Linked DNA regions of Homo sapiens: region 2 is linked to region 1. Evidence: promoter capture Hi-C in 16 types of primary human blood cells and fetal thymus (Javierre and others, 2016). All regions are on one chromosome and are shown on one strand. Each heading gives the region's core, a stretch centred on a gene start or on the middle of the fragment in contact. The rest is flanking DNA. Distances are from core to core; before and after follow the strand shown. Region 1 holds the start of LRRC63 (leucine rich repeat containing 63). Region 2 holds the start of SLC25A30-AS1 (SLC25A30 antisense RNA 1).

Region 1 (3,414 bases), core at 650-3,149:
AAGAAATATGGGGCTAGGTTCCTGCAAACCTCTGGTTTCAACATTTTCATCAACTGATCAACACTAATTTTGTTTTATATTTGTTTCTATTTAAAGACACTTTAATAAATATAAACAGTTGATTTGTTAACATTGAACTTAGGGCCAACAACACTACTCACACCTGAAGGAAACTTATCTAACACATATCTTGTTCTCTGTAAGGCCCATCACAGCCTTCTTGTGCTCAGGAACACTAGACAGTACTTCAACACTATGCTTGGGGCCCACAGTGAAATCACTAACTAAAAGCACAAACATTCAAGAAACATAGAGCTAAACAGACAGGGAAAACAGTACCCGTTTACAATATGAGAGCTGAAACAAGAAGGTAGAGGTAGCCTTGTTCCACCTCAGCTGGAGGCATGTGTGTTGGGTGACTCATTTTCAGTGCTCTGCACATATCCACGCATGACTGAGAAAGCCCTTTGAGTACCAATTCTGGGGTTACAAGTAAATTTTATCGATGAGATAAACTTGAATCTACTAAGTCCACCAATAAGTATCAGTAAATGCATCTGTGGAATTGAATTGGATGTTATCACCTGACAACAAACATTTGTAAGTTATTAGTGAGTGTATTTATTGTGATTCTGAGCTGTGCAAGTCAAGGAATTTCTATGAAAGATACATAAATGTTAATACACATATCTGATTAATACACATACCTGTATGGGTTTTTTTCTCATGTAAAGACAGCTTAGTGAATTTTGGAGGTAAGGGTCTTCGAAGAAGCAGTGGGGGCTTTTGCATTTTAATGAATAATAAGTGCTGTTTTTCATAATCCTTGGTTTAAATGAGAATTGAAAAGGTTTTGAATATGTTTGAATTGTTGAAAAATAATAAGAATTTAGATTACATCTTAAAGAAAATCATTCTGTACCAATACTCTACTGAATCCAGGCAGAATTCCTTTATGAAAAAAAAAGAGGGTAAGAAAATAATTCTTTAAAACTTCTATTAATAGAAAGAATCCAGTTAAAATGTAGGGTTATAAGTAAACATAGAATTTTAAAAATATGTGTATTATTACTACCCAGGATCATTCTACAATTTTCCATGTTAGTACAAAGTTCAATTTGCCAATGCTATTTCAACTAGTAAATACTGATTTTTCAGAATAGTCGAAATGACATTTTTTTTCTCTCTCTCCAAAATGTTATCGCTATAAATGTAGAAAGAGAATTTGGTCAGAAATGTGTAGAAGATGCCTTCATTAGATAAGCCTCTGAAGACCCACCATATCTAACCATTCACAAACAAATTGTTTTCTTTCTATAATGGCTTGTTTTTCAACCACTATGCTTGGGCCAAAACAATTCAATCCTAAAATAAGATGGGTTTCACTATAATGAGATTTCCCAGGGCTGCTGGATCCCAACTCATACTGTTTAGAAATAATGCGAGAAGATGCACCCCCAAAATGTGCTTTTAGTTTGCAGGGCAACATCAAAAGTGCCTGGCACGGCATTATTCCATTGATAGCCTAGAAGGGAACACCCTGAAACTGCACAAATGGGCCGTTTACCGCCAAAAGATAACTGCACACAAGCGCTCAAGGTGTACTCCCTGGTCATATGTTCCACACGATGCTGGAAATCTCCCTTCCGTAGTACCCAAAGAGGGGCATGGAAGTGCTGGACTCCCACACTACCCTTTAGGATAATCGGCCGCTTTCCAAACCAACTGGCTTTTCGTCTCCTATCTCCTTTTCCTCGGAATCTAGGCAGCGAGGTAAAGGTCCAGCGAGGGTCTTCCTGCAGGAGGCTGTTCCCGAAGAAGCACCACGGATCCCCACCCTCTAGGAGGCCAAGGAGACACACCCTAGCAACCGGGGTCCGCTAAGCCAGCCCAGCCACTTGACGCGCAGGCGCGGGGGCGGGACAGGCGAGGCGGGCGCGGGACAGGCGAGGCGAGGCGGGCGCCGGGAGGGGCAGGCCCAGCCCACGGTGCAGCGCGCGCGGAGCCCTCGCCTTCCTCCGACGCACTGTGGGGCTGCAGGGGAAGCTGCGGGCCGTGGGGGCCGGAGGAGAAGCCGGCTCCACGCGCAGCTGCTGTACGGAACGCCGTGGTGACAATTGTTATTACTATTTTTATGCTTAATGGCAATGACCACTATTATTTATTATTTTCTCTCGATTACAGGATGCTTTACTTGGGTGTCTAGAATATGGGCTGGCATTCTTTAAGGCTGCACTTTTGTGCAGCCGGGTCCCGGGGCTAATTTTGCAGTGCTCTCGAAAAGCGGGCATTCGGTTTTCTTTCTCTTCCTTTCATGCAACCTGTTTTCTCTTTCTGATCCTTTAAAGTTCCTGGCTGAGGCTGGATTGTGTAGAAATAAGGGCATTAGGGATCCAAGCGGGCCATAAAAGAAACCCATTTCTCACTGTCATCGTCCTCTGTTCTGGTTATCATATTGTGACGTGTCGCCTCTGTCATGGTGTTGATGAACCTGTGTGTGCAGTCATAGATACATCGTGTGTGTTTGCAAAAATGTGCGTGTTTCTCTGGAGATTTGAGGGGGAAAGAGCACTAGAAAGAGCTCATCTGATAGATGCGGAAATCCGAACTCAGAAAGTAAACTAGGTAGAGCTTCCTTCCAGGTTTGGTTTTTTCTAAGTACTAGCGCAGGAACTTTATAACAGAAGTTGGAAAATGAGAGACTTCTGTATAAATCTTTCTAGCTTTGGGGATCTTTCAAGATTCACACCATAACCATGTCTTCCTTTTTCTCCTTAGTAGCAAACATGTTTTAAAACAATCAATGAAAAAAGTAGAAAAGTTTTAACAAAAAAGTAATCAGACTCTGGAAAATATTATGCAACTTGTTTTCCTTTACAGTAGTAGTGTACTGTTTCTTTTCCTTGTAAGTTTACTGTGTCCCAATTATACTGCTGCCCCAGACTATGAATTTATTTCCACTTTTGCTGTTATCTACACCATAGATTCATTAGTTTCTCAGAAATACAAAGCTGAAAATAAAAGGCAGCTCTGTGGCTAAGATTAGTCTCAAGTAATATATATCGTGCATATTTTGTAAATGTGAAAAAAGGTTTATATTTTTAAGCATAAAAAATGACAGTGTAAATTGAGTCAGGTACCTATGCTCTTCAAGATCGTTGGAACCATGAGAACTACAGGAATTCAGTTTTACTGACTGACGTTTGGCCTTTAAAATTTATGCTTAGCTTTGTGTAGTCGAAAGCAAGGCTTCTGAATGCTTTTTCAAAAAATGCTTTGTCACACTTGGAATCCGCAGGCATCCAGGTATCATTCCTTGCAGATTTCTTCTAGCAAGTATGAGACTAAAACCTAGGGCGGTTTAATATGTAATCTCAGGTGTGAACATTTTGTCTTCTATTTCTACCACTTAGT
Region 2 (3,414 bases), core at 1-2,500, 790 kb after region 1:
GGGAGGCGGAGGTTGCAGTGAGCTGAGATGGTGCCATTGCACTCCAGCCTGGGCAACAAGAGTGAGGCTCTGTCTAAAAACAAAACAAAACAAAAATATACCTGGGTATGCTTGAACACAAACACTGCCATACCGTTAAAAATGTTATATATTAATATATAAATAAATATTTACATATATGTATATTAGATATATATGTAAAGATTTCTACTCATAGTACGGTTCTTTTAATTTTTTGTTCTGTTTGGACATTTTCTTTCTTTTTTTTTTTTTTTTTTTTTAAGAGGGAGTATCACTTTGTCGCCCAGGCTGGAGTGCAGTGGCGCGATCTTGGCTCACTGCAACCTCCGCCTCCCGGGTTCAAGCGATTCTCCTGTTTCAGCCTCCCGAGTGGCTGGGATTACAGGCACCCGCCACCAGGTCTGGCTTTTTTTTTTTTTTTTTTTTTTTTTTTTTTTTTTTTTTTTTTTTGAGACGAAGTCTCGCTTTGTTGCCCAGGCTGGAGTGCAGTGGTACGCTCTCTGCTCACTGCAATCTCCGCCTCCCAGGTTCAAGCGATTCTTCTGCCTCAGCCACCCAAGTAGCTGGGATTATAGCGCCCGCCGCTATGCCCGGCTAATCTGTATATTTTCAAGCTAAAAGCTGGGGTATAAAAAAATAAGGGCAAGTTTACTTCCATCCAACTGTGAAGGTTCACGGGGGCACCGTGAGAAGGTTGCCCCCTGCGAAGGTTGCTTTTCCACGGTTCTCGATGCGTTCCCCAAATTTCTCTTCCACCTCCCAGTCGATATCGGAGGCCACATCAGGTGTCACCGAGTCCCGGGCAGCTCCCTCAGGCAGCGGCAGGGGAAGATCCTGAGGGGCACTTGGGACGGGCCCCGCCCCTCCGTGTCCCCATCTGGGGCTGTCAGGGGTGTGGCTAGTGCTGGCAGAAACCAATGGGAGCTGAGGAGGTCGCGTGTTTGCGCGGACGGGGCGGGGCGGCGCGGGGCTGCGTGCAGGCTCGTGGGTCTGCCCCGCCCGCGACGGCATTTTTTCCTTTTCTCCAGCGGCCTCAGGTTCTTGTTACAACTGAGTCCGGGTTGGAGGAGGTGTGGGGCCGCTGCCGCCAGGTAAGTCCTGGCCCGTGCCTCCTCCTGCCGGCCCCGCTTTCTCTGCGGCTCCTGGAACCCGGGCCTGGGGTAAGGTTGGGCTGCGATTTCCGAGGAGCCTCCTTTGCAACCGGGCGTGCTCGGGGCTGCCTGTGCTCTCCACTTCGCAGGCCGGGCCGGGCTCGGCGGGGCGCGAGGTTCCGGGGACTGGGGACAGGGCTCTGCTTCTCGGGCTGCTGCCTCCTTGGGTCGGGCCGGTGCCGCGGGGCCCCCATCGCTGTTGGCGTGGGGTGATTCCTGTTCCAGGGTCATTCAGATCCGAGTGCGAAGCCCGTCCTGGCATCTCCGCGTCTGCTAACGAGCCCCGGGCTTGCAACCCTGCTTGTGCGTCCCTCCCACTCGTGCGTTCATTCAAACGGCAGCCTGAGCGCCCGCGAGCTTCGCACTGTGGGAGAGGGCACACCACATTCGGAATCGCTCGTGGCACACAGGCTGGGAGGAACTTGCCTGGAAAGTTAATGTACCTCTGGGTTTTGAAGTCTTTCTAGGTGCACTTTCATGTAAAGCAGTTGCAGTGATTAGCATTTTTGTTCTGCGCAAGAGTAGCAAACAATGTTGGCACTGCCCTGCGGATTCGGCTTGCGGTGCTACTTGGGTAGTGAGAAAGTTGAAAGGCATGAATCTTGCTTTTGGCTTTGCCGTTGCGAAGCTTTGTGACCGCGGGCTCAGTTAATTAACGTGAAACGAGATGATAATTTCGAAGATTTCTTTTAAACCCGGCTTTTTGTAAGTCTGTGATGAGCTTAGTTTTCCTTCTGCACCTTTAAAAAGAATAGGAAATAGGAAAAGTTCATGAAAGGGCATTATTGAAAGGGCAGTCGGTCCAGCAAGGAACAATAAATGTATGAGAGCACATTAAAGGCTGTGCAATTACAGTTTTAAGACTTAAGACTAAAAAGGGAACAGGAAGTAAAACTGAAAGAACTTACCAAGAATTAAATAAGAGAAACGGCTGGGAGCGGTGGCTCAGGCCTGTAATCCCAGCACTTTGGGAGGCCGAGGCGGGCGGATCACCTGAGGTCAGGAGTTCGAGACCAGCCTGGCCAACATGGAGAAACTCCGTCTCTACTAAAAATACAAAATTAGCCGGGCGTGGTGACGGATGTCTAATTCTAGCTACTCGGGAGGTTGAGACAGGAGAATCGCTTGAATCCAGGAGACGGAGGTTGCAGTGAGCCGAGATCATGCTATTGTACTCCAGCCTGGGCAATAAGAACAAAACTCCGCCTCTAAATAAATAAATAAGAGAAACTTGGAAAGCGTTCAAAAGTACGAACAGCTAGTATTATATTTAATTACCTCCCTTTACAGCTGTACACATGAGGTCAGGTGGGTGAAAATAAATACTAAGCAACCATGTAAGAGAAAATGTAGACAGGATGTGTAACTTAGCATATATCCTAAGTGTAGGGAGAATCCTTTGAAATTCTTAATTTGTATAGACAATTTCATTCAGAAAACTTGTTTTTAACCTTTATTTATTATTTGGGACAGGGTCTTGCTCTGTCACCCAGGCTGCTAGAGTGCAGTGTCATGGTCTTAGCTCACTGCAGCCTTGAAGTCCTGGGCTTATGTGCCCCTTCCACCTCAGCCTGCGGAGTAGCTGGGACTAGAGTCGCGTACCACCATACCTAGATAATGTTTTGGATTTTTTTAGTATAGGTGGTCGTCTCATTCTGTTGCCCAGGCTGGTCTTGAACCCCTGGCCTCAAGCTATTCTCCAGCCTCAGCCTCCCAAGTAGCTGGGATTACAGGTATGTGTGACTAGCCCAGCTAACATTTTTGTTGTTGTTTTTTTACTTTGTATTTTTCACTTTTTTTTGTATTTATTTATATATTTATTTATTTATTTGAGATGGAGTTTTGCTTTTGTTGCCCAGGCCGGGGTGCAGTGGTGCGGTCTCAGCTTACTGCAACCTCCGCTTCCCAGGTTCAGGCAGTTCTCTTGCCTCAGCCTCCCGAATAGCTAGAATTACAGGCGCCCACCACTATGCCTGGCTAATTTTTGTATTTTTAATAGAGACAGGATTTCACCGTGTTGGCCAGGCTGGTCTCGAACTCCTGACGTCAGGTGATCCACCCGCCTCGGCCTCCCAAAGTGCTAGGATTACAGGCATGAGCCACCGTGCCCGGCCTGTTTTGTTTTTAACTTTAAAAAATTTGGACCGGGCGCCGTGGTTCATGCCTATAATCCCAGCACTTTGGGAGTCGGAGGCAGGCAGATCACAAGGTCAGGAGTTCGAGACCAGCCTAACCAACATGG

Evidence for each region. Contacts are between HindIII fragments. The CHiCAGO score rates a contact against its expected background, and 5 or more counts as called.
Region 2: a contact is called between the fragment with the promoter of SLC25A30-AS1 here and the fragment with the promoter of LRRC63 in region 1, in 1 of 17 cell types (monocytes). The highest score is 5.3, in monocytes.

What each region holds. Positions count from the first base shown.
Region 1 is chr13:46,210,413-46,213,826 of GRCh38, reverse strand. It overlaps LRRC63 (leucine rich repeat containing 63), which reads right to left and starts at 1,899. Exons shown (of 10, transcript NM_001282460.2): 1 at 1,568-1,899; 2 at 708-825. The coding sequence starts at 792. LOC107984578 (a long non-coding RNA gene) reads left to right here and starts at 1,975. Exons shown (of 4, transcript XR_001749863.3): 1 at 1,975-3,414. RefSeq lists a silencer at 1,814-2,143. The HindIII fragment of the contact is 5,320 bases long and covers 1-3,414 here.
Region 2 is chr13:45,415,998-45,419,411 of GRCh38, reverse strand. It overlaps SLC25A30-AS1 (SLC25A30 antisense RNA 1), which reads right to left and starts at 1,250. Exons shown (of 2, transcript NR_047031.1): 1 at 674-1,250. It overlaps SLC25A30 (solute carrier family 25 member 30), which reads left to right and starts at 1,039. Exons shown (of 10, transcript NM_001010875.4): 1 at 1,039-1,112. RefSeq lists enhancers at 635-824, 1,635-1,684 and silencers at 935-1,034, 1,075-1,404. The HindIII fragment of the contact is 21,864 bases long and covers 1-1,802 here.